Regions from separate parts of the Homo sapiens genome. Here all the other regions are linked to region 2. The links are contacts of gene promoters, found by promoter capture Hi-C in blood cells and fetal thymus (Javierre and others, 2016). All regions are on one chromosome and are shown on one strand. The core of a region is centred on a gene start or on the middle of the fragment in contact, and the rest is flanking DNA. Distances in the headings are between cores, read along the strand shown. Region 1 overlaps RBM26 (RNA binding motif protein 26). Region 2 holds the start of POU4F1 (POU class 4 homeobox 1). Region 3 overlaps RBM26-AS1 (RBM26 antisense RNA 1). Region 4 has its middle 160 kb from the start of RBM26. Region 5 has its middle 44 kb from the start of EDNRB-AS1. Region 6 overlaps NDFIP2 (Nedd4 family interacting protein 2). Region 7 overlaps RBM26 (RNA binding motif protein 26).

What was found. Contacts are between HindIII fragments. The CHiCAGO score rates a contact against its expected background, and 5 or more counts as called.
Region 1: a contact is called between a fragment that was not itself captured here and the fragment with the promoter of POU4F1 in region 2, in 1 of 17 cell types (total B cells). The highest score is 7.4, in total B cells.
Region 3: a fragment that was not itself captured here is called in contact with the fragment with the promoter of POU4F1 in region 2 in 1 of 17 cell types (total B cells); the score reaches 6.4 in total B cells.
Region 4: a contact is called between a fragment that was not itself captured here and the fragment with the promoter of POU4F1 in region 2, in 2 of 17 cell types (total B cells and naive B cells). The highest score is 9.6, in total B cells.
Region 5: a fragment that was not itself captured here is called in contact with the fragment with the promoter of POU4F1 in region 2 in 2 of 17 cell types (M2 macrophages and M1 macrophages); the score reaches 6.9 in M2 macrophages.
Region 6: a contact is called between a fragment that was not itself captured here and the fragment with the promoter of POU4F1 in region 2, in 1 of 17 cell types (erythroblasts). The highest score is 5.1, in erythroblasts.
Region 7: a contact is called between a fragment that was not itself captured here and the fragment with the promoter of POU4F1 in region 2, in 1 of 17 cell types (total B cells). The highest score is 5.1, in total B cells.

What each region holds. Positions count from the first base shown.
Region 1 is chr13:79,345,717-79,349,400 of GRCh38, forward strand. The region is part of intron 14 of RBM26 (RNA binding motif protein 26); the gene reads right to left. Among named protein-coding and RNA genes, the nearest start is that of RBM26, 59 kb to the right of the region's middle. The HindIII fragment of the contact is 6,086 bases long and covers 1-3,684 here.
Region 2 is chr13:78,602,260-78,605,714 of GRCh38, forward strand. POU4F1 (POU class 4 homeobox 1) reads right to left here and starts at 1,293. Exons shown (of 2, transcript NM_006237.4): 1 at 945-1,293; 2 at 1-292. The coding sequence starts at 1,067. It overlaps OBI1-AS1 (OBI1 antisense RNA 1), which reads left to right. Exons shown (of 6, transcript NR_047001.1): 4 at 3,042-3,185. RefSeq lists a silencer at 1,084-1,243. The HindIII fragment of the contact is 4,390 bases long and covers 1-2,492 here.
Region 3 is chr13:79,416,236-79,419,540 of GRCh38, forward strand. It overlaps RBM26-AS1 (RBM26 antisense RNA 1), which reads left to right. Exons shown (of 7, transcript NR_038991.1): 4 at 1,600-1,681. Among named protein-coding and RNA genes, the nearest start is that of RBM26-AS1, 12 kb to the left of the region's middle. The HindIII fragment of the contact is 529 bases long and covers 1,757-2,285 here.
Region 4 is chr13:79,247,483-79,251,084 of GRCh38, forward strand. No RefSeq gene overlaps it. Among named protein-coding and RNA genes, the nearest start is that of RBM26, 160 kb to the right of the region's middle. The HindIII fragment of the contact is 2,558 bases long and covers 330-2,887 here.
Region 5 is chr13:77,773,355-77,776,753 of GRCh38, forward strand. No RefSeq gene overlaps it. Among named protein-coding and RNA genes, the nearest start is that of EDNRB-AS1, 44 kb to the right of the region's middle. The HindIII fragment of the contact is 5,148 bases long and covers 1-3,399 here.
Region 6 is chr13:79,490,492-79,494,105 of GRCh38, forward strand. The region is part of intron 1 of NDFIP2 (Nedd4 family interacting protein 2); the gene reads left to right. Among named protein-coding and RNA genes, the nearest start is that of NDFIP2-AS1, 11 kb to the left of the region's middle. The HindIII fragment of the contact is 2,909 bases long and covers 228-3,136 here.
Region 7 is chr13:79,326,551-79,330,284 of GRCh38, forward strand. The region is part of intron 20 of RBM26 (RNA binding motif protein 26); the gene reads right to left. Among named protein-coding and RNA genes, the nearest start is that of RBM26, 78 kb to the right of the region's middle. The HindIII fragment of the contact is 4,693 bases long and covers 1-3,681 here.

The sequences.
Region 1 (3,684 bases), core at 698-3,197, 740 kb after region 2:
GTTTTTTAACTTGGTTCAGTGCTACAAACAGTGCCAGGGCACAGGGTAAGTACTCAAAAAACATTTCTGCACTAAACTAGACTGAAATGACTATAGGTCAGAGTGGACAACCTTTTCTATACAACGGTCAGCTCAAAAAAAAAAAGTATTGGGTATCTTTTTTATCCTTCAAAAGAAAAACAGTTTAAGTTCCACGGGGTGACTGGTTACTGGTTCTTAAAAAGAAGCCTAGGAATCCCTGTAGGGTGATCTACGAATGCTATAAAACTAAACATGAAAGCATGTGTGTGAACACTGCAATTTTTCTAAGGAAAAACATTGTTTTCTCAAGTCATTGTTTCTAAAGGAGTTCATGACCTAAATAAGGTTAAAAGAACTACTCAAGTTTAAGAGTATAAATGAGAAAAGTGGCCCTATTTTTTAGCCACTGAAACATTAACATCTGGTTAACAGGTAAGTAGCAATCTGAAGACTACTTTCTAATCTTTCATCATGAAATCTGATTAGGGAACATCACAAATCGCTATTCTAAGTATTCAAGAAAGTGTTAGCCTCTAAACGAAATAAAAACCTAAAATATTATAATTGTACTAGTTTCATACAGTACAGCTGATATTTAAAAAGAAAGGTTCTTAACAATATTTGATGTGTATTAAAATTTGATCAATTATTATATTTGTGAGACAGGGTCTCACTTTGTCACCCAGGCTGGAGCATAGTGGCCCAGATCTTGGCTCACTGAAACTTCCACCTCATGGGCTCAAGTGATCCTCAGCCTCCCAAGTAGCTGGGACCTCAGCCGCGCACCACCACACCCGGCTAATGTTTTGTATTTTTTGTAGAGACAGGGTTTCTCGCCATGTTGCCCAGGCTGGTCTCAAACTCCTGAGCTCAAGCAATCTTCCTGCCTTGGCGCCCCAAACTGTTGGGATTATAGGTGTGAGCCACCATACTCGACCAATTAAACAAAGATTTTGTTTGTGGTCAGACTTCAGTGACCTTTCTTTGTAATTCTAGAGAAAAATTTCTTCCATGCTACCTAACCACAGCACAAAATGCCAAACCACATGACTATACAAAGACAAGACAATATATTAGTAGAGAAACACAGGATAAACTGAAAACAGAGCCTAATTAAGTTTCACAAACTGTTTTCTTCATGAGGATTCCATAAGTTGAAAAGTTGTGGCCAAAAGAAAAAACTCCTAATTATTTAAGTGTGAAACAATGAATATCGTAACCCAATTTTCCAGTTTTTAATTTATATTATCTTCATAATAAAAGCAGTGAGAAGCCAAGAACAAACCCATATAATTTATTTAACCAAGTATTTCTCCAGTTTCAGTGAGAATACTCCTTTTCAAATCATTTTTGACATGTAGTATCAGACTAAGGAGTGCTGGTTCAAAGTGAATAAAAGTATCTGACAATGATAAGACTCCTTTATTCCTAGAAGTATTCCCATTTCCTTTTTTATCCAGGAACATCCTTCTGTAAAACTAGAACATCCACGAATGTGACTCACTAAGGCTACAACTCAGTGACTGTAAGACAAACTATCATTTATGTACCCCTACTAAAGAAAAAAAGGCTGCCAATCATAACCTGTGTCTAACAATTATAAGACACAGCCCAACGTCAGAGGTGTTAAAATGTAAAAATGTGACTTATAAACAATGAACTATATTGTTCACTATTTGAATCTATCTGGTTCTGGAGATTAGACAGTTTGGATAGTAAGAGACACATGTATTTTCAAAAGAAGAAAATCTATTAAAACTGAAATTAGTGGAGGGAAGTAACGAGCCCAACAGAAAAGAAGATACTCCAATTCCTAAGAACAGAGACAGTGACTTCTCCAAACAACCACATTTCTATATTCCAAATGCATTTCTATATGTGCTATAATTTTTACATATTTACTTCTATACATCTTACTACACTTACTTAATCCCAACTGTGTGAATTATTTTGAATTTTCTATATCTACAACCATGTCATCTGCAAGTAAACAGTTTTATTTCCAATCTTTATATGGTTTATTCTATTTTCCTTCCTTAGTGCACCCATGAGTCTCTCCAGTACAATACTAAAAAAAATAAAAGTGATGCAAATGGACATCCTTGTCTTTCCCAACCTCAAGGAAAAACAGTCAATATTTCACAATTGAATATTATGTTAGCTGTAGTTTTTTTTCTTTTATTGCAGATTTCCTTCATCAAATTAAAACAGTTTTTCTCTATTCCTCCTTTGCAGAGTGTTTAATGTAACTAAGTAACAGAACACTTTCTCTACTGAGCTAATCATCTAGAGTTTTTTCCTCCCTCATTCTACTAACATCAATTAAACTGATTTTTCCAATGGTAAATCAACCTTGAATTTCTGGAATAAATACTACCTGGCCATGAATGATTATGTATTTCATGTATCACTGGACATTTGCTAATATTTTCTCTAGGATATTTGTGTCTATGTTCATGACAGATGTTGGTCTGTAATTTTCCTTTCTTATAGTATATTGTCAGGTTTGGTATGCTGAACTCAGAAAATAAGTTGAAAAGTATCATGTGCTGTGTTGTTAAAATGTATAGCACTAATACCTCTTATTTTCCCTAAAGAGAGGGAGGTTACAATCCATTAACACCTCCTTATTTTATTTCCTATGTAAAATAATACCAGCCACAATAACTATAAGTAATCGTAAAGAAAGAGAAAAACAGCTGTTTTTCATAGATAAGAATGGAAGGGAAAAAGTATTTTGTAAAATTAAGTTATCCGAGTATGATTTTTCAATAACCAATGCCTAAGTAGAAATTAAATACAAATATAGTTATGATGTCTAGCAGCCACACTCACAATAAATAGCTCCAACAGGTTTTTAAAGCAGAAATACATTGGTTTAATGCAATCAAAAGACAGTATGAGGAGCTATGTGTAGGAAACGTATTAATACAGTTACTGTATGGTCAGTTTTCATAGTAAGTAGTCACCTGTTCAGTAAATCTGAATGTTCGTTTATGATATTCACTTAAAGCAGCACACAGATGTGCGTTCTGTATCAAACCTGAGAATTCTGGTGAGAAGAATGGGATTTTGGTTTAAAGTTAAGTTTATACATACTTTTAGATATTAATCGTTTTTAAATTTCAAGAACACAAAGTATGTTTTAATGCACTGATCTACCTTATCTTTTTTGTAGCTTTCAAAATTTTATTCTTTTAATTGACAAAAACTGTATAGAGATGTCCCTTAACTTATGATGGGGCTATATCCATTGTAAGCTGAAATACCATTTAAGTTGAAAATACATTTTCAACTTGTAAGTAATAAATGCATCATCAAATTGAAAAACTGTTAGTCAAGTCACCGTAAGTTGATGACTGTCTGTGTATTTATCATGTACAACATGCTGTTTGAAATATATACACTGTAAAATGGCTAAGTCAAGCTAATTAACATTTGTATTACGTCACTTTTTTTTGTGGTGAGCTGCTTTCTTGGCAATTTTCAAGAATGCAACACATTGTTATTAACTATAGTCACCACGTTGTACTATAGATATCTTTAATTTATTTCTTCTATCTAACTGAAGTTTTATATCTTTTGACCAACATTTCCCAATCCCCTGTCCTCAGCCACTGGTAACCACCATTCTACTCTCTGCTTCTATGAGTTCAACTTTTT
Region 2 (3,455 bases), core at 43-2,542:
CGGCCGCCGCGCCCGCGCCGCCCGCGCCGGCCATGAGCGCGAGCGACGGCGAGGAGATGTGGTCCAGCAGATCGCCGGGTTCGAGCGCCTGGTGGTGGTGGTGGTGGTGGTGGTGGTGCGCCAGAGGCACCGTGGAAGTGGACGTGCACGGCACGCTGTTCATCGTGTGGTACGTGGCGTCCGGCTTGAAAGGATGGCTCTTGCCCTGGGACACGGCGATGTCCACGGCCGCCAGCGCCTCGGCCCGCGCCAGCAGCGTCTCGTCCAGGCTGGCGAAGAGGTTGCTCTGCAGCTGCAGGCGACACAAACCAAACCAAAAAAACCACAAAACCAAAAGAGCAAAACAAAACAACAGAAGAAACACACACACAGGCCGGAAAGCACAGCATGCGAAGGGCAAACACAAAGCAACCAAAATAACAACGGGTTTGGGGGCAGTGGAGAGCGGGAAAGACGGAGAGGGGGCACATTGACGACCAGGGAGGGGGCAGACGAGAAGGGATGGGAGCGTGGAGAGGGGGACAGAAGTAGGGAGAAAGGGGGACACAAGAACACATTCCGGAAACGGGCGTGGGAGACGAAAAAGAGGGAAAAGAAGAAATGGAAATGTAACTCGCAGCTGGGGACCCGTGTCACACACCCGAGCACGCACAGAGACTGCCTTTCTGAGGCGTGAAATTAACAGAGAAAGTAGAGGGAAGTCGAGAGTCCTGGCCCCAGCGCTCCCTACTCCGATCGCAGGCGCCTGACGCGGAGGCAGAGGCAGACAGGAACACGACATTAAGGGCCGCCGGACAAAACGTGCCTCGCTGCGGGACTGCTCTACACCCCCTGCCCGCAGTTCCCCGCACCGGGACCTGCACACACCAGCCCCCGACATGCAGCGTTTCGGAGACGGGGAGGGGCGGGCGCGCGGGCCGGGGCCGCGGGCGTGGGGCGCTTACCGGCGGCGTGGGCAGGCAGGCCCGCCGGATGGCCTCGGAGCTGGAGTGCAGCGACGGGTACTTGTGCTCAGGGAGGGTGGGATGCATGGCAAAGTGAGGCTGCTTGCTGTTCATGGACATCATCGTGGCGGCTTGGCATGTATATCCACAAACACTCCGAAAGTCCGCGGGAAAGTGCGTACGCCGGCTCACCCGGCCTCCCTTCGGAGGCTGCAGCCGCGGCGGTCGCGGCGGCTGGCGGCGGCCCCGCCGCGGGCTGCTGCTGCTGCTCCTGCTGCTGCCAGGCGCTCCCTCTGACCGCGCAGAGCGCCGCGCGCCGGCCTCGCGGTCCCGCTTCTCCGACAGCTCTAGCCCCGCGCGCCGACGGGATGCACTCCTCTAACACCTGAGCCCCACTTCTCGCGGCCGTCCCGGGGAGCTCTCGCGAGAGCTCGCGGCCCCACCGCGCTGACAGGCATCAGCTGTCTCCGTCTGTCTGACGCGCGCTCTCCTTCTCGGCGGCCCCGTGCGTCTGCGCGCGCGCGCGCTCGTCCGGCCGCGACCAGCGCGTGGGAGCCGCTCTTATAGTGACCACCAGCAAGGACAGCGCAGGTGATGCACCTGTAGCTACCCGGGCATGCGCACTGCCCGCCTCACCTTTCCCACCGTGGTCTGGAAAGATCAGAAGGTCCAGCTATTGTCTAAGGGTGGGCACCTTTTAGAATAAAAAAGACGAGATGCGCGCACGCCCCTCTATGTGTGTGTGTGTGTGTGTGTGTGCGTGCGTGTGTGTGTATGTGTGTATGTTTCTTCTCCCTGATAGCAAGCCTTGAATATATGAGCATTACTTAGGCATTCCTCCTCTTCGGGATGCCTAACAAGCTGTTGTATAATGTATACAGCTGGACATTTCTACGTTAAATTATGCCCGCGCATTCCTCTGTATACAGTATAAATAACAACACAGAAATGCAGAAGGTGCTGTCTTTTGCTGCAAGAACCTGTTTCTTTAAAGGTTTATAAATAGGTTCCTGGAGAATAATCGCGGTGACAGACATTTGTTTGAAGCAGTCAGACGCTATTGATTTCCATATAATTTAATTTCCTCCGCATACTTTTTTGTTGTTGTTGTGAATATAACTGTGTCAGGCACCGCCAGTGACAGCCACTTAGGAGCCACAAGGAGCGTGTGCTTTCTACTCGGGAAAAGCTGTTGAAATGAAATTGTGCATTTCTCTTATTGTTTGTCTCCTTCAACCGTGTACAAACCCACGTTTCAAACGAGCTCCGGGTGATCTAAGGCTTCTAGTAATCAAAAGGAAAAAACAGTTAACAGGGTGTAGTTGGGATCCTTCCTCCCCTCAGCGTACACACACACACACACACACACACACACACACACACACTTTATGCTGGGAACTCCAGGAAAACTGCTTCAGAGAAAAGGGAATAAGATGTTGAAAAGAGAACTTTCTTTTCCCTTCCATCTTTTTGGCTTTTTGCCTCATATCTCTGCCTGCTTATATATATTTTTTTCAATAGGAGACAGATCAAACTAACTTACAGGAAAGCTTGATTCAAAAATATTAAATCAAGCCAATTTGAAAGAACGGGGACAAGCTCTGGTCCAGTTTTTAAATTTTTAAAAAATTATTGTGAAATTAAGACCTAAAAAGAATAAATCAATTAGCCAACCTGTTATATGGCCCTTATGTGGTAGCAGATCAAGAGCCTCCCAGGGGAGCCACAGTTCAGGTGCCAAAGTCCCCAGGGAAGGAGCACTTGCTCGCGGTGATAATAACCTAACAGCCCAGATGTTATCACATCTGCGGTAAGAGAGCTGGAGAGCAGCAAGGGGCTGCTTATGGAAAGCAGAAATCAGATAATCTTTCTGTTCTCTCCCACACCAAGGAAGTCTGTATTTCCACCAAAGAGCAGATCTCATTTCTATAAACCTAAATTTGCGTTCCCGTGGATTTTATCTTTCCTCTGCACAAATGCATGTGTGTTTAGCATACCCACTCACCTACTCAGATTCCAAGAAGAGCCCACAGGCGTCACCATGGCTTTTTCTTTCTTTCTTTTCATGTTCCCCCCCACCCCCTCCCTTCCTTCTAGCTCCAGAGGGAAGTGAGAAGGATGTTCACTTGCTGGTGAGAGAAGGAGCTGGTTCCATCCATTACGCAGTCCCCTGGGAGCGCTAAATGCAACTTTATCTCAACGGGGAGTGGACGATGAGCAGGACGTCGCTAGAGGGAAAGAGTGAGTCCTACGGTAGTCATCACACCGGGAGTCCGGGCTTAACCTAGTCCTTCCTGACACCCCTGGTGGCCGTTCCCTGCGCTCTCTCTTGACGGGAAAGAAAAGGCCCCCACAGAGGGTGAGGGCCTGGAACCTGCCCCTCCCCTCTCAAGGAAGCGCTGGTCTTTAGGGACCCTGAAGGGTACAGGAGCAACAGAAAGGTAAACAGTACAGGTTTGCGGCCGGGTGGGGCCTCTGAGAGCCAGGTGAGCTCCTGAGTACCCAAAAGGC
Region 3 (3,305 bases), core at 771-3,270, 810 kb after region 2:
TTATTGGACAGTGCTTTCCTAAAATGTAAGAACTTTTTTCTCTCCTTATGTGAAATAAAGGAAAGAAATAAAGAGCTCAGTGTATTAATAGAGTAACTCTTAGTCCTCTTACTCTGTACTGCTTTGGTATGTTTTAGAATGCTTCTATGAAACTACTGCTGAAAACATCATTGGCGTTTGTTCAGTTTGGGAAGCTCAGGTGTGGTAGGGCCCAGGGAAGGAAGAGTACCTGCAGGGAGACCAGCCAATACTGAGAGCAAAGTGGGGGCTACCACCCTTCCTTTTGTGAATTATTAAGTAAGAATAAACACTTACCAGCAGATGAATTACAGGATAGAGATGAACACTCATCAGTAGTGTGAGGCCCCATAGCTTCTCTGATCTCTCTCACTAGAGAATATTAAGAGGTATACCCATTCTAGTTCAAGAAGGAAGAGCCTTCTACAACTGGCTTACATGAGTAAGGAAAGGCTATAATTAGATTTGTGTGGAGAATGTATGGGGCTGAGGTGGGGGTAGCCAAGAAAGATACAATGGGGAGTGGTAGAAGAAGGAAACAATTAGGAGAATATTGTAATGGTCCATGTGAGATGTTGGAAGTTTGAACTAGAGTGTTAATGGTGTTGATCTTTTCAAAGTTGTTAAAAAAACAACTATTCAGCTCTATCATTTGAAGATCTGCTTTCAGCCACCATTCTTTCCTTTTCTCTTTATAGGCAAGCAAGAGTTGTTTGTACTCATTGTCCCAGGTTCCTCTCTTCCATCACTCCAGTTCAGTATGAACTAGCTTCTGTCTCTATCATTTTACCAAAACACTTCTTGCCAAGGTTATCAGTGACTTGCTTTTCGCTGACACTGACCAAATGTAGTATCCACATTTAGTCTTGTGTTATTTGATCAAATATAACATTTGACAACATTGTTCACATGTTTTTTTCTTGAAACACTTTTTTCCCTGCTATTTTTATTGCATCACAATCTTCTTGGGTTTTTCCCCCTGATTTTTCTGAATACTGTAATGTATCCTTCTTGAACTTCAACCACACTTCATATGGATGTGCCTTGGAATTCCTGTTGGTCTTTTTTCAATCTAAACATGATCCCCAACCCATCTTATCTATTTTTACTATTTCAACTCCTATATCCATGCTGATGTTTCCCAAAGGTCATTACTTGGATGTCTTCTAGGCATCTCAAATCAGTCTCTAAAACTAAACTCATTATCTTCACTAACCAATTTTGCCCCTTTCCTGTGATATGTAACTCATAGAAAGCCACCATCATCCAATTGCTCAAGTCAAAAATCTAAGTATCATCCTTCTCCTTTTACCACTATCCAATTAATATCCCAATGAATATCTATTGAGTCTTCCTCCTAGGCATACCTAGAATCTACTCATTGTCATTCAACCCAGATGATACACTGCAGCCAAAGAAATCCATTAAAGCCCCCTCTAATCATGTAAACCCTTATTGGCTCCCCATATCCCAGGCTAAAGTACAAATTTATTAATTGTAATACTTAATTGAAATTAACTGTGTTTTATGGTATTAAGCACTGTTCTAAATGCTTTACATTTATTTATTCTCACAATTTAGCATTCCCAGTTTACAGCTGAGGAAATTAAGCTTCAAGTTGCCCAAGTTTATAGAATGAGTCAATGGCAGAGGTTGAACTCAGGTCAGTAATCAACACCACATCCTTAACCACATGCTTTCTTACATCTTTCATTAATTGACACCTGCCTAGTTCTTAAGCTTCTCCCATTCTCCACTTTTTACATTCTACAATGGTGCCATACCATGTATCTGCAGTTCCCAGAACAGTACTGCATTATGCAATAGATGAACTGGTATATGCTGAATAAATCATCAACACAGAGGCATGAATATATTTTTAGAGTATTTATTATTTTTTAAATGATGAGAACATTGGAAAAATCAGAAAGACTTCCCTACATGTAGTTTTATAGTTAGCATTATTTTTATTTTGAATTTCAAGTGGGAAAGCACTATAATATTTTGGTGCATAGAGCCTGTAAATTCCTTAATCTATTTCTACAAACAAGCCATGGTGTCCGTCATTGTACTCTTTGCACAAAGAGCCCCTTCGGTTTAGAACATTTACCATGCCCAACCCTATCCTTCATCTAACTCCAGCACTTACCTTAAAAGTCGCTTTCTCCGGGAAACCTTCCCTGACTGGGCTGAGTGTTCACAGTGTTTATCCCTGTTACAATTACATCACGTTGTATTGTTAAAAGATTAGGTTCCTTGAAGGCAAAAGCTTTTTTTACCCACTGTTTTATTCCCCAAATCTAACATAGAATAGATAATACATTTTTCAACAGTCATTTATCACTTTTTTCCTACATTATAATTACCATTTTTGAAATGTTGATTGACACTTGTCTGACTCTCAAGGTGCCATGAAGTGAAACATTAGTCCACAAGAAAGGCTGTTTTTTTTTTAATGGTCTTTCTTTGATATTTGTAAATCTCCCATAGAAAGAGGAAAAGATAAAATGAACTAGTTTTTAAAAAAGTATTAACAGGGTTGTTTTTTTTTTTTTTTTCTGAGGCGGAGTCTCGCTCTGTCGCCCAGGCTGGAGTGCAGTGGCGCCATCTCGGCTCACTGCAAGCTCCGCCTCCTCGGTTCACGCCATTCTGCCTCAGCCTCCTGAGTAGCTGGGACTATAGGCGCCCGCCACCACGACCGGCTAATTTTTTGTATTTTTAGTAGAGACGGGGTTTCACCGTGTTAGCCAGGATGCTCTCGATTTTCTGATCTCGTGATCCGCCCGCCTCGGCCTCCCAAAGTGCTGGGATTACAGGCGTGAGCCACCGCGCCCGGCCCAGGGTTTTTGTTTGTTTTGCATTTTAAGGAGCTAGAAAGGTAGAGGAGGCTAAACGCCATCTACATCTCAGGGTTTTTGTTTGTTTTGCATTTTAAGGAGCTAGAAAGGTAGAGGAGGCTAAACGCCATCTACATCTCAGGGTTTTTGTTTGTTTTGCATTTTAAGGAGCTAGAAAGGTAGAGGAGGCTAAAAGCCATCTCTACTCATATTTCCAAACACCTGGTATTACAGTAATGTCCTCTCTCACAGTTTGTTCACACTTCCCATATTCAGGGCTTTGAGTAGTGTCCTCCCACACTGATTCTGGATTTGTCCAAGTGATTTACTTTGCTAGTGAGATTAAGGTAAATATGATGAGATAAAAATAAATGTGATGCAAGAAACAACTTGAAAAGTGCTTGAATGCTGAGGCTGCCATGTGATGAGGTCCCAGTAAGATCCAGCCTG
Region 4 (3,602 bases), core at 359-2,858, 650 kb after region 2:
GTTCATTTTATTGCCTATAAATATCTCATTGTTCTAGCACCACTTGTTGAAAAGATTATATTTTCCCCATTAAATTGCCTTGCCACATTTGTCAAACAGCAGTTGACTAAATGTGTGTTTATTTCTAGATTTTATATTCTGTTCCATTAATCTATTCATCCATACACCAATTCCACATTTTCTTGATCACTATAGCTTTATAGTAAGCCTTGATATCAGATAATGTAAGATTTACACTGACTTAACACTGTAAGTCATCCACATTTGTACTTTTTAAAGTTTTTTTGTCTATTTTGGGTACTTTCTACTACCATATAAATTTTAAAATAAGCTTGTCAATTTCTACAAAAAAGGCTGCAGGGATTTTAATTGGGCTTGTGTTTAATTTATAAATCAATTTGGGGAAAATTGCCATCTTAACAGTACTGAGTCTTCCAATCCATGAACACGGTATAGCTTTCCATTTATTTAGGTCTCCTTAAAATTTTGCTAAGCAATAGTTTGTAGTACAAAATTTAATTAAAAATGGACTACAGACCTAAATGTAGTGGTTAAAAACCACAAAAATTCTAAAAGAACACAGAATACATCTAGTGACCTTGGGCTTGGCAAGGTTTCCTTTTTTTTTTTTTCCAGATGGAGTCTCACTCTGTCGCCCAGGCTGGAGTGCAATGGCACGATCTCGGCTCACTGCAACCTCCGCCTCCCAGGTTCAAGCGATTCTCCTGCCTCAGCCTACCTAGTTGCTGAGATTACAGGCGCACACCACCATGCCTGGCTAACTTTTGTATTTTTATTAGAGACGGGGTTTTACCATGTTGGTCAGGCTGGTCTTGAACTCTTGACCTTGTCATCCACTCACCTCAGGCTCCCAAAGTGCTGGGATTACAGGGGTGAGCCACTACACCCAGCCCAAGGTTTTCTTAAATATGACACAAAAAAGCACACACTGTAAGACAAAATAATAAATTGGACTTCATCAATTAAAATTTTGTTCTTCTAAAGACATTGTGATGAAAATAAAGGGCAAGCCTCAGACTGGGAAGAAATATTTGCAAAGCATATATAAGAAAAAAAAACTTGTATCTAGAACGTACGAAGAACTCTTACAATTCAATTAGAAGACAACCCACTGTTTAAAATGAGAAAAAGACTTGAACAGATATTCGATCAAAGAAGATATACAGATGGCAAGTACATCAAAAGTTGCCCAATATTATTAGGCATTAGGGAAATACAAATTAAAACTACAATGAGATCTCGCTACATTTCCAAACATTACTTTTTTTTTTTTTTTTTTTAGTTGGAGTCTCACTCTGTCACCAGGCTGAATTGCAGTGGCGTGATCTTGGCCCACTGCAACCTCCACCTCCCAGGTTCAAGTGATTCTCCTACCTTAGCCTCCTGAATAGCTGGGATTACAGGTGTGCACCACCATGCCCAGCTAATTTTTGTATTTTTCATAGAGACATTGTTTGACCATGTTGGCCAGGATGGTCTCCATCTCTTGACCTCGTGATCCAGCCACTTCGGCCTCCGAAAGTGCTGGGATTACAGGCATGAGCCACCATGCCCAGCCCCAAACGTTACTTTTTTTAGAATGGCTAAAATTAAAAAGACTCTCCACACCAAGTGCTGGGGAGGATGTGGTGCTACTAGAACTTTTATATACTGATGGAGGAAATATAAAATTGTACAATAAATTTGAAAAACACTTTGACAGTTTTAAAGGTAAACATATACATGCCATACAACTCAGAGATTTCATTCTTAGGCATTTACCTAAGACAAATGAAAGCAAAGACTTGTAAAGGAATGTTCCTAGCAGCTCTATGTGTAATAGCCAAAACTGAAAACAACTCAAATGTCCCTCAACTGAGGAATGAATAAATAAATTGTCCTATATCCATATAATGCATTGCTACTCCACCATAAAAAAAGATTCAAATTTAAAAAAGAATAAGAATGTTGCTATGTGCAACAACATAAATTAACTCAAAATAATGTACTTTCTTATTGTCTGAACTATCTAAAAAACAAACAAAAATAATGAGCTGAATGAAAGAAGATAGAAAAAAAAACCCACATATTATATTATTCCATTTATATAAAATCTGATAAAATGCAAACTAAACTATAGTGACGCCATGCAGACCAGTTGTTGCCTTGGGAAGAAGAGGGAGGTTAGGGAGGGGAGTAAAAGATAGATTACAAAGGTTCACAAGGAAACTTTTAGAAATGTAGATACATTCACATATCTTGATTGTGGTGATGGTTTCATGGGTGTGTACATAAGTCAAAACTCATCGAAGTGTACATTTTCAATACATACAGTTCATGGTATGTTCATTATACCTCAATAAAGCTATAAAAATAGTGTCACACAGCAGTGGCAAAAAAAATGGTTAGATAATATATTAATTTTTAACTTTTCAATTATTCTTTTTTTTTTGAAACGGAGTCTCGCTCTGTTGCCAGGCTGGAGTGCAGTGGCATGATCTCGGCTCACTGCAACCTCTGCCTCCCAGGTTCAAGTGATTCTCCAGCCTCAGCCTCTCGAGTAGCTGGGATTACAGGCGCCCGACACCACGCCCAACTAATTTTTTGTATTTTTAGTAAAGACAGGTTTCACCATGTTGGCAAGGATGGTCTCGATCTCTTGACCTCATGATCCGCCCGCCTCGGCCTCCCAAAGTGCTGGGATTACAGGTGTGAGCCACTGCACCTGGCCTCAATTACTCTTTACTTTCAGGAATTTAGTTTTGCTTTGATATTTCTGGTGTTTAAAATGCCAATGACACTATTAACACAGTACTAATATAACAGATCTCATATTCGTGTACTTGTGCTCAGGGTAGAGCTGCAGAGTAATGTAACTGCATCTTCAAGCTTGATCCCACCCTCCCCCTCAAAAAAAATTCTGTCATTGCACTCTACCTATATTTTTGATAAACAAATTAAGAGTTCACAAATTATCTCTACAATTGAGTTTCAGCATTCAATTATTAAATCCATCTATGCTGGTAGATATGAAAATGCAACGTTTGGCAACTTTTGAGGTTCTTAAATGATCCAACTGGTCGTGCAGACTAAAATAAAACCAACAATAAAAACGCAAGCCAACCTCACATAGTTGCTAGCTAAATTACCATAAAAATAAAACCACTTCCCCCACCCTAGAGTTGGCCTTGTTAATAGGGTAGAAACGTAAGCTTTCAAGTATTTCTTGGGTTTTCTTCTTTTCCAGTGGCCACTGGGCCTGCTTCCCTTTACTGAGAATGAAGTTAATAACAGAATGACAGGAAACAGGCATTATTCATTTCACATGTGGACAAGAGAAGTGAAGGGAGAACTTTCTTCTATTTGAGCTTAGAAAGAAGAATTTAGAAGTGGCCGTTCTTAGAACAGCATCACAGTGATACTGTAACTTGTAAAACACCTTTGGAGGCATGAGAGCTCATCATCCATTTCCCTCTGTCCCAACAAGGAAGTTTTAAACAATCTCAAATGACTGTAATAATTTACAAAAGTCTTCAAATCTTTGGAAGAGAAACCCTGAATCTCTTTTAGAAACATTCTTTTCAGCCAGGGTTCATCCCAAC
Region 5 (3,399 bases), core at 54-2,553, 830 kb before region 2:
TTCTGCAAAGGAAAAAGTAGGAGCTGAGATATAGAATGGTAGGGAATGAGAGGAAGAGAAAAAGGATTATTTCAATAGGGGTTCTCTGAAGGTATCCCATTTAAATAATCATCCTTGGGACCTCCTCTTCTGGGAAAAGGATATTTAAGCTGAAAATGTACAGGAGTTAATCAAGTGAAGAGAAGGAGAAAGATTTTTCCAGGCACAGATAGGGAAGATTTTGGGGTGTTTGAAGGATCAACAGAAGATTGGGATGGCAGGACCTCAGTGTGCTGGTGTCAGGATTGGCTACATCATTTGTGGGAGCTAGCACAAAATGAAAAGGCAGGGCCCTTTGTTGAAAACATATTAAGAATTTCAGGATGGTGACAGTGGAGTATTAAACCAAGTCTGGGACTCTCCTAATCATGGGTCCCTGCATACTGTGTAGGTGGCACACCAGTGAAGCCAGCCCCGGCTAAGAGGAAAGAGGTAAGAGCTGAGTTGGAGGAAGAAGCAGAGGGAAAATCTTGTGGAACCTCAAGGCTACATGAAGCACTTTGAGCTTTATTTCAAATTCAATGGGAAATGATTTCTTAATAATACCAGCACTCATAATGCTTTTCCTATGTGCCAGATACTCTGTGTAGCTCTTTAGAACGTTTTACTTATGTGATCCTCACACAGCCTTATGGAAGTAAATACTATTATTATCTCCATTTCAAAGATGGGGAGACCCAGGTGCAGAAAGGTTAACTTATGCCAGGACGCAGAGCTCTTAAGAGGCAGAAGTTGGATTTGAATGCAGTTCAAAAGGAGTGAGTTGAGCAAATTAAAAACTTACTCTACCTTTATATGAGAATAAATTAAAGAGAGCCAAGAGTGGAAGCAGGCACAAGGCCAGTGGACATTCCTTGCAGAGACAGCAGTATGTACAAAGGAATGGTGTGTGCAAGGACCTGAAGTTACATTGCTAAGTCAATCAGGGATTGGTTTAATTTAGCTGCATTGTAGGGTATAAGGAAGTGCTGTAAGAAACAAAGCCAAAGGCTGGGCAGGAGCCAATTTGGGGAGGGCCTCGTAGCTCATGCAAAGTAGGAGTGGGGAGCTAGATCTCTCTGAGGGAAGATGTGAAGGCAAGAATGATACCTAATTCTATGTTAGCCAGGCTCAGTGCAGGTAGCACTAATTAGCTTTTTTAAGGGAGAATTTTTTAAATTAATTTTTTTCATTTATGTTATTATGTTTTAGAGAGAGGATCTTGCTCTGTCACCCCAGGCTGGAGTGCAGTGGTACAACTGTGGCTCACTGCAACCTCAACCTCCTGGGCTCAAGTGATCCTCCCACCTCAGCCTTTTGAGTGGCTGGGACTAAAGGCACACTCCACCATACCCATTTAATTTTAACCTTTTTTTTTTGTAGAGACAATGTCTGGCTATGTTATCCAGGTTGGTCTTGAACTCCTGACCTCAAGTGATCCTACCACCTCCACCTCCCAAAGTGCTGAGATTACAGGCATGAGTGACCTTGCCTGCCCTAATTTTATTTTTGTAAGTGATAAATAAATGTACATATTCAGGGGGTACATGGTGGTGTTTCAGTACCTATCAATCAGATCAGGGTAATTAGCATATTCATCATCTCAAACATTTATCATTTCTTTGTGTTGCAAAACATTCACTATCCTCCTTCTGTTTGAAACTATATAAAAATATATTATTGTTAACTATAGTTATCCTACAGTGTTACAGAACACCAGAACTGATTCCTTCTATCTAGCTGTAATTTTGCATCCTTTAACATAAGTAGAATTTGGTAGAGGAATTCAGTGTCTGCAAGATCACTGGGAGGACTGGTGGGCCCAATTAGGGTGGGCCTCTGAGAACAGCCCGTAGCATAGCAGCACAGATCTGGCCTGCCAGGGGATCTGCTAACATGGCCAGAGACAGGGACGTGGGGAATCTGAAGCTGCCACTGGAACCGTTGGCTCCACTAACACACTGCACTAACTGTGGTCCGGGGATCAGGAAGCAGCATCGTGGCTGCATCATCATGCCTGCCACATTTGCACCAACAGAAAGTGGATAGGTCACATGTCCCACCTGTCCCACCCAGGAAAGTCATGGACCATATGTGGGGACCTCTGCGAAGGCTGCCACACAGTAAAGGCAATGTCTTCATGGCTGTGCTTGCAACAGAAACACCATAAACTGCGGAACTGTCACCTTTCCTGCAATAGTGATGGGTGTGCCCTAAGTCACATCTGGAATCCTTGCAGAAAGGAAGTTTGATAGATGTGATTTTTAGCTTTGTCCCTGTGCTATGCAGAGAGACATGCTCAGAGAAGTACCATATCCACCATGGAGACGATTGTATTCACCTAATAAACAGTGGATAGACTGGAAGGAAAATATAGGAGGGGCACGAAGACAGGAATATAGATGAAAGACTTGGTTTTAACAGAGCTAAGCCAATTTGGTGGTTTGTGCTTGGCAGATTCTGTTTAGTGCACATCACATCCAAGGGTTAGAGTGAGTGAGGGCTGTGGTCCACTCTCCCACAGTCTCGCAGACTAAGATGTTACAGGCAACGGCTTTACCAGATGCTTACCATGGCAGAACATGAGTCACTGCTTTCTGCTTTTGATACCATTTTCCTAATGCCCCCCTGCCCTGCTTAACTGCTAAGTAGCGCACATTTTACATTTTAGTCATAGAAACACTCAATTTCCTGCACTAATGATTCTATTCCTAAGTATAGGTATGTTAGTTTGGTTTGCCCCAAGGCAGATCCTGAGACAAGGGTAAGTAGCTTCATTGGAAGGTGCAGGAAATATCATAGGTGGGTGGCGAATTGAGGAAGAACTGGGAAAACTGGCAATAAAGAAGACTTATTAAGCACGTTAGCACTGTGGGCAACTGGAAAATTCTACAAGAAAATTCTGAGATATAAATGCACACCTCAGGGCTAGTCTGCTCAGGAGCTGAGGTATATATATACCTCCTCCCATCAGTCAAGGTTGAGGATGTTCCTGAGGGGTGTGAATTTCCACCCCTCCTGTGTTGAAGCTGCCATCTCAGCTTTTGAGAAAGCTGTCAGCCCCCTGATAATCCCCTCCATAGTTGTCTAGAACTTGGTCACAAACTATGGTCCATGAGCCAGATTCCACCCACAGCCTACTCTTTTGTTACAAGCTAAGGGTGATTTTTATATTTTTATAGAGTTGTTGAAAAAAATCATATGTAACAGAGACTGTGGCCTGCAAAGCCTAAAATATTCACTTATGGTTTTCAGAAAGAGTTTGCCAATTTCTTGGTGTACATGGTCTTGCAGTAAGAAATAATCTCCAAATCTCAGGTTAAAAACAACTATTTCTCCGTTGTGGTCTATGTCTGATAGAGGGCAGAAGTGGGCTTGCTT
Region 6 (3,614 bases), core at 432-2,931, 890 kb after region 2:
GTAAAGGGCTAGATAGTATTTTAGGCTTTATAGGCCATGTGGTCTCTGTCACAGCTACTCAGATCTGCCATTGTAGTGCAGCAGTATCCATACCAAATATGAAAATGAACAAATGGGCTGTGTTCCAGAAGACTATTTGCAAAAACAGTGTGCTGGATTTGGCCTGCTTGCTCTAGTTTGCCCACCCCAATGTAGATGTTATAGGAATGTACCTCATATAGGCCTGAAGCTTGGCATGTTGAAGGACGCTTCTAAGAAATTAATTTTTTATTTCACCCAGTCTCTAAATAAATTCCTAACAATGTGGTGAGGTTGTTTTGCATCCCTTACTTGCACCTGATAATCAGCCAAGCACCTAGTCTGTCCTAGAATTGGGATGGATATGAGTGGATAGTAGAAGAGAATATAATACTCCCTGTGAGAGTGTCAAAAACAGCTTATTCAAATATGGTAGAATCTTCATTCTGTTAGTGTGATTGCCTCATTGAGGTCATTCTTGACTACCTTATTTTAAATCACTATATCCCATTCACAGTACTCCTTATCGCTGTTTCCTGTTTGTTTTTATCCAGAGTACTTATCATCTTCTGGTATTCCAAATATTTTGCTTATTTATTTCCTACCTCCCTTCTTTCTCCCTGAATTTAAGCCTCATGGTGGTAGAGAGATTTTTGTCTGTTTTGCTCACTACTGTATATATCTTTCCATACCTGCCATATGGTAGACTTTCAGTATTTGATAAAGATGAATGAATGGTGCTAGTTCAAGGCCAATTTTATAGACATAAAACCTTGCCTATGTTATTTTATTCCTTTTTATATTTATTCTGTTTCTGCTACTGAGACCTGGGCTCTTTAAGGTGGGGGTGATGGTGGTGGTTGTTTCTTTGCATTCTCTTCCAGCTTGAAATATATTGCTTAGTCTTCCTCTGTCTCTCTCTCTGAATGGTGTCCTTTAGAGTTGTTCAATAAGTAGCCCATGAAGCCATATGCAGTGGCCCTGCTTATCACCTTCATAAACTGCGGAGTTGTGAATACTGGTTTGATTTTCCTTATCTTTTTTATATTGATTACTTGGCAACTATTTTCTTCTTACTATTTTCTTAATATCTGACCTTCATTCTAAAACATTGCTCAATTGTATGTGTATTCGCAATATGTTATTTTAGGATTTTGTATGTATTCTATATATGTAGGCCTGACTTGAGTTTAATTAACTGTGGAATGGTATGGAATCTTCTACTGACGTTTAGTCAATGTAAATTTACTGACAAGATCACTGTAATTAAGGCTATGCAATTGTAAATCATCGTATGTCTCTGTTTTCGGGCCATGTTGTTATGGTTTCTTTCAGATGTTTGATCACTTAGCTGGAATTAGGGTGTGGGTAAAATTCTTGTTAAAGACGTGCCAAATGCAAGTTGGGAAATGCTGCAGTAGTCTAAGATTTACTGTCAGATTATTTCAGGGTTTTGACTTGCTTGCTTTTAAGATTTGTTTGAACATGTACAGTTTAATATTTTAAAAGTTCAGGAATGTGCTGTGGTTTAGTTCATCTATGATGTTTCTCCAGAATTACTCATAACATTATGTAAAGAAATTGTGCTATTTGGACAGAGGTTTTGAGAATAAGGGAGTGAACTGGATTTCATTTTGTAAAAGAATCTTCTAATGTGATGGTATTAACCCCTTTACTAATTTTGGGGGTCTTAGGACATATAGCCTTTTGGATATTGGACTGAGGAAATCCAGTAGTGACACCTTTTTTTTTTTTTTTTTCCTTTCTTTATAAGTGTTCAAAGTGACAGCTTTTGTAGAACATTTGTTCTCCTCACCTCGGGAGAGCTTTCATCTATATCAGATGACTTTTTGTGTGATTTCTGTCAAAAGGGAAGAGTCTTGAAATAACACTTGAGAGTTTTGTTTTTTTTGAGGCAGAGTCTCGCTGTGTCACCCAGGCTGGAGTGCAGTCTGGTGGATCACAGCACTGCAGCCCTAACCTTCTGAGTTCAAGCGGTCTTCCCCCTCAGCCTCCCAAGTAGTTGAGACTACAGGCATGCATCACCACGCTTGGCTGAATTTTTTCTTTTTTAGAGATAGAGTCTTACTATGTTGCCCAGTCTGTTCTCAAATCATTTTTCTGCCTTGGCTTCCCAAAGTGCTGGGATTACTGACATGAGCCACTGTTCCTGGCCACACTTAAGGCCCTTTTAAGTATTTGTTTTTAACCTTTAGAGAACAACAGGAGCACCTGCATACCTCATCCCTGCCTACGTTGTTACTGCATTGCATACTTTGGCCATGTTTTAAACTATAATGCTTTTGTTTCTCTATCACCACCCCAAATCATGCTATCTCTTGCTTTGTAGCTTTTAAATATATCTTTCCCATTTTTTCTTTTCTCCCTCCTTCTTCCAGGACTAATTTCAATTGTGTATTCAGATCTATATTTAGATGTTATTTTCTTCAAAAAACCTTTCCTTCCCTTTTACCTCCCCATCTCCATTTCCTGCTCTTTACTTTCAAGTTCTGCGTGTTCTTTTAACTGTGTGCACTTATCCTTGTTATAGCCCTTATTTCATGGTGTGTATTTCCCCACTAGATTGTAAACTCAGTGGGAAGCAGGGCTTAGATCTGTCTTGTTTATAATAGTTTATGTCATTGTTCTGGTCCTGTTATAGGTGCAAAATAAATACTTATTAAAGAAATAAATGAATGTCTTTTCTGAATGATTCCAAGTGTGTGCATGGCGATACTGGTATATTTTATTATGTTTATAAAGTGATATGTAGTTTTACAGAATTCTGTGCTATAAAAGTAATAATGTTTTGCACAGCCTATGCACTGTTGATATTCTTGATGTTCATAATTAGGGTATATCCTTTGCTTTTATAATAGTGCTGATGAATCAGTTTAGATGAGTTCTGGTATTTTTGAATAATTCCTCTTGTAACCAGTGGCTTGCATTTGCAAGATAGTAACCATGGTTAGGTTATTTGGTCTACCCATGGAAAAGAGAAAAGGAAATTGTTTCCAGATATTGTGGAAATAGGGGAGTCCTTAATGATCATTTTCTTCAATCTTCTCATTTTACAGAAGACTATCCGAGGGAGGTTCTGTTCAAGGTTATGCAGGAAAGCTTAGAGGACAGATTTTATTACCGTAAACGTAGCAACAGAGTTAAAATACATCAAGGATCCTGGGAAATAAAACCTTTATGATAGCTAAGTTTCTTTTATTTATGGCAATGCCAGACATAGAGAGCATGAATGGTATAGCTTAAAAAGTCTGGTATCATCTAGCTACAATGAACCCAGCCAATTGTGTAGCACTCACACCTCGGTAATCTTTCATTGGGCTGGATTTAGCTTGTAGGTGTTTTCTTTAACCATCATATTAAAAAAAATCAAATAGTACATGTCCACTTTTAAAATTCCGAGCACCAAAAGACGAATAATTAAAAACAGCAATCTCCTTTTCACCCTTTATCTTGTAAGTTTTTCTCCTTGGTGGGGAAGAACCCAAAAAACCTTTTAACTATTTCAGCTGCTTTATTTTACTGTGTATTTTTAACATATGCAGTTTCAGCCACTAATTTATTTTTATTAATTTTAC
Region 7 (3,734 bases), core at 85-2,584, 720 kb after region 2:
TTTGAAAAAACTACCAAAGTACCAAACTAAAGCCAGCAAAGATAAACTTAAACAAATCATTTCTACAAAACAGCCTGTAAAAAGACACATTTAATCATTAGATACTGATAGTTTCACAAATGAATTCTATTAAAATTTTAAAAAACATATTTCCAAAGCAACTTAAATTATCTCAGAAAGCAAAGAATAATGGAAACTTTCCAATGACAGGTAATAGAGATACCTGACAAAAATATCCCTCCCAAAATTTACAAACCAATCTTACTTTTGAAAATCATTTTAAAAAGTAAAAAGAGAAATAGAAAGAAAAAGAAGAGACTTTAGTGATTTTTAAAAATACAGTACTATGGGATTTAAACCAGAAGAGAATGATTAGAAGCAGTGCAATGAAATAAGGTGAAAAAGAAAAAAAAAAAGTCATTGTTATACAAACATCAAAAAGCATTATAAAAATCCATTTCTAGCCTGGGCGTAGTGACAGAAACCTGTAATTCTAGCACTTTGTGAGGCTGAGACAGGCAGATTGGTTGAGCTCAGGAGTTCAAGACCAGCCTGGACAACATGGTGAGACCCCATCTCTACAAAAAATACAAAAATTAGCCAACTGTGGCGGCGTGTGCCTATAGTCCCAGCTACTTGGGAGACTGAGGTGGGAGGATCACCTGAGCTCAGGAAGTCAAGGCTGCAGTGAGCTGTGATCAGACCACTGCACTCTAGCCTGGGTGACAGAATGAGAACCTGTCTCAAAAAAAAAAAAAAAAAATCCATTTCTGATCAAAAATCTTAATGAAACAGAGTCATTTGTATTCTACCTTAAGACAAAAAGCCAGCATCACACATAATACTGAAAATACTAGAAGCATTTTCATTCTGCAAAAAAGTCAGTCACTATTATTATCGATGTTTTTAACATTTTTCTAAAGGTAAACGATGAAATAACAGAAAGTAGTATAAGTGTAGAAATGTGAGAGGTAAAACTATGTTTAACCAAAGATAAATTGAATGAAAACCCAAAAAACCCAAGAGAGCAAAATTAAAACCATCAAATAGTTTGATAAGATGGCAGTTACACATTTAATAAAAAAAGATGAACAGTCTTCCTACATATGAAGAACCAATAGAAAATATTATGGAACAAAAGATCTCATTTAAAATAGCAATAAAAAGATGAATTATTATGGGGAAATTTATAAGCAATGTATGTTGTCTATATAAAGAAACCATAAGCAGGAAGGGTGGGAGACAGATGAGGGTTGAAAAATTACCTAATGGGTACAATGTTCACTATTTGGGTAATGGGTATACTAGAACCCCAAACCCTACCAGTATGCAATATACTCATTAACAAACGTGCATGTGTACTCCCTGAATCTAAAAATTAAATTAATTTTTAAAAAAGAAAACCTTAACACTAGTAATATATACTGGCTATGTTAAAAAAAATTAAAATGCTCTTACAATGTAAAAAGTACTGAAGAACTTGAAAGACAATGAGGTTTTAGAGGAAGACTTAGCATTTGAGGAAAATTTAGTATTATTATGTTCATTCTCCCATAACTTAGTCTATCTTTTTGAAACTAAGTTTATTCAAAAGTTTACATCGAAAATAAACACCTAAAACATACCAGCAAGATTCTGAAAGTGAGTAATAATTGGGTGTGAGAGGGAATCCAAACTGCCCTGACAAACTACTGAGTTTAGAAAGCTAGTTTAATTAAAACAGTGAGAAACAGGCACATGAAGAGAGAACTCATCAATGGAAGAGTCTGGAACACACCCAAATAAACATATCAGAAATTTATATATTTCACATAAGCCTGGAAAAACTAGATTTAACTAATGAACCCAACAGGCTTCCTATTTCACTCCTTAGACCAAATAAGTTCCACGTAAATTTTTAAAAAAATGAATGTGAAGTCTTCAAAGAAAAAAAAAAGCCTATTAATATTAAGAGTATTAGAAAAAACAAGGGAAAATGTTTCTTATCTCAGATTGGTGAAAGCCTTTCAAACTATAAAAAAAGATTAACTGGACAATTAACTATTATTGTGGAAAATACAGCATAAATGAAAATTCATAAAAATATAAGCTATGAGCTAATTTCCAAATATACAAAGAGCCCCTGCATTAAGTAAAAAAAAAAAAAAAAAAAAAAAAGACTACTCAGCAAAATAATAGAATGGGCAAATGACATTAACAGTTGATAGACATAAAAACAAACAATAAAAACAGACAGCATTTAATTAAACATGAAAATGGCTCAACTACAATCAGAAAAGTGAATTAAAACCTAAATGAGTTTCTATTTCAGTTTGATAAACTGAAGATAAAACTGATACCCCACTCCGATAAAAATGAGGACAAACTACATACCTATGGATTTTTTTTTTTAATAAGAAAAGTAGTAAAACCACTATGTAGCGTACACACTATGGCAAGAGTGTAGGGAAAAAGCATTCTCATACATCTTTGGTGGGCAAATAAGTATAACCTTTATGGTGGGCAATTTTCATTAAAAATTTAAACGTACATATCCGTTCACCCACATGTTGGTGTCAGTGAGAAAGGTGGAAAAATGTAGAGACATTAAGACCCATGAGATTAAGTAAAAACCATAGAGTCTAGAATTAACAAGTATCAGAGTGAATTCTGAATTTATCTTTACCTATCTACTTGTATGTGTGTATATATGTGTATGTATTAAAAACTTTATAGCCCCAAATTAAATGCAAAGTATCAGTATGAGCTCTAAATTTCTTTATACATGTGTATATATGTGCATATACATATATATATATGTATGTTTTTTTTTCACTCCCAGTTCTGACAACTGAAAAGGATTAGTGATGGTAACATACTTAATAGTAATGCGTACCCCTAGTACCCAAACTGTAGTGTCTAAATATCTTTGCCTAATAAATAAACCAAAGCTCCTTAGAGAAAGGGTCAATTCCAGGTCTGGAAGAGACAGTGTTTAAAATGAACCTAGAACACCTTCTCATACCAGAAGGAACAGAACCACTAGGATCCTGTCAAAAGCACTCAGGAGCCAACCTGTAGTCTCCTGGCCAAAGATGGAATAACTTCAACATTAATAACTGAGAGCAATGGATTTGTACCCATAAAATGTTTATATATGAATTTATGACTGCATAACACCAATCAAGCTATATCAAAATATGAACCTTATCTAGATCCTTATTTTTAAAAAGTAAATTTACAAGAAATTAGACAAATGTCAACCCTGACTGGATATTTGATATTTAGGAATATAATTTTTAGGTGTGATAGTAGTACTGTATTTTTTTAAGGCTCTATCATTCGAAGAGCCAACCTACGTTAAAACCTAAATGAAAAAGGAAGGAATCAAACCTCTAGAAACTGGTTCCATCATTTAAGGTTCTATCATCTAAAATGTTTACAGATGAAATGATACAGTGACTGTGAATAGCTCCAAAATAAGGAGTGGGCAAGTTGTAGCGAGTGAAATATAGATGAAATAAGATTGGCCCTAAGTCGATAACTGTTGAAGCTCAATGATGTGCATATGTGAATACATTTTATAATTCTAATTTCTATACTATAAAATGTACACAAAATTTGAGTTTTAAAGCTGAAATAGTTTATTCAGAGGCTTGTCTCTAGTCTTTTGACTATTTATTCTTACACACATTCATTCAAAGCTTACAGCAAATTAAGGAATGGCATATACATAACAGAAAGCACAAAGGTTA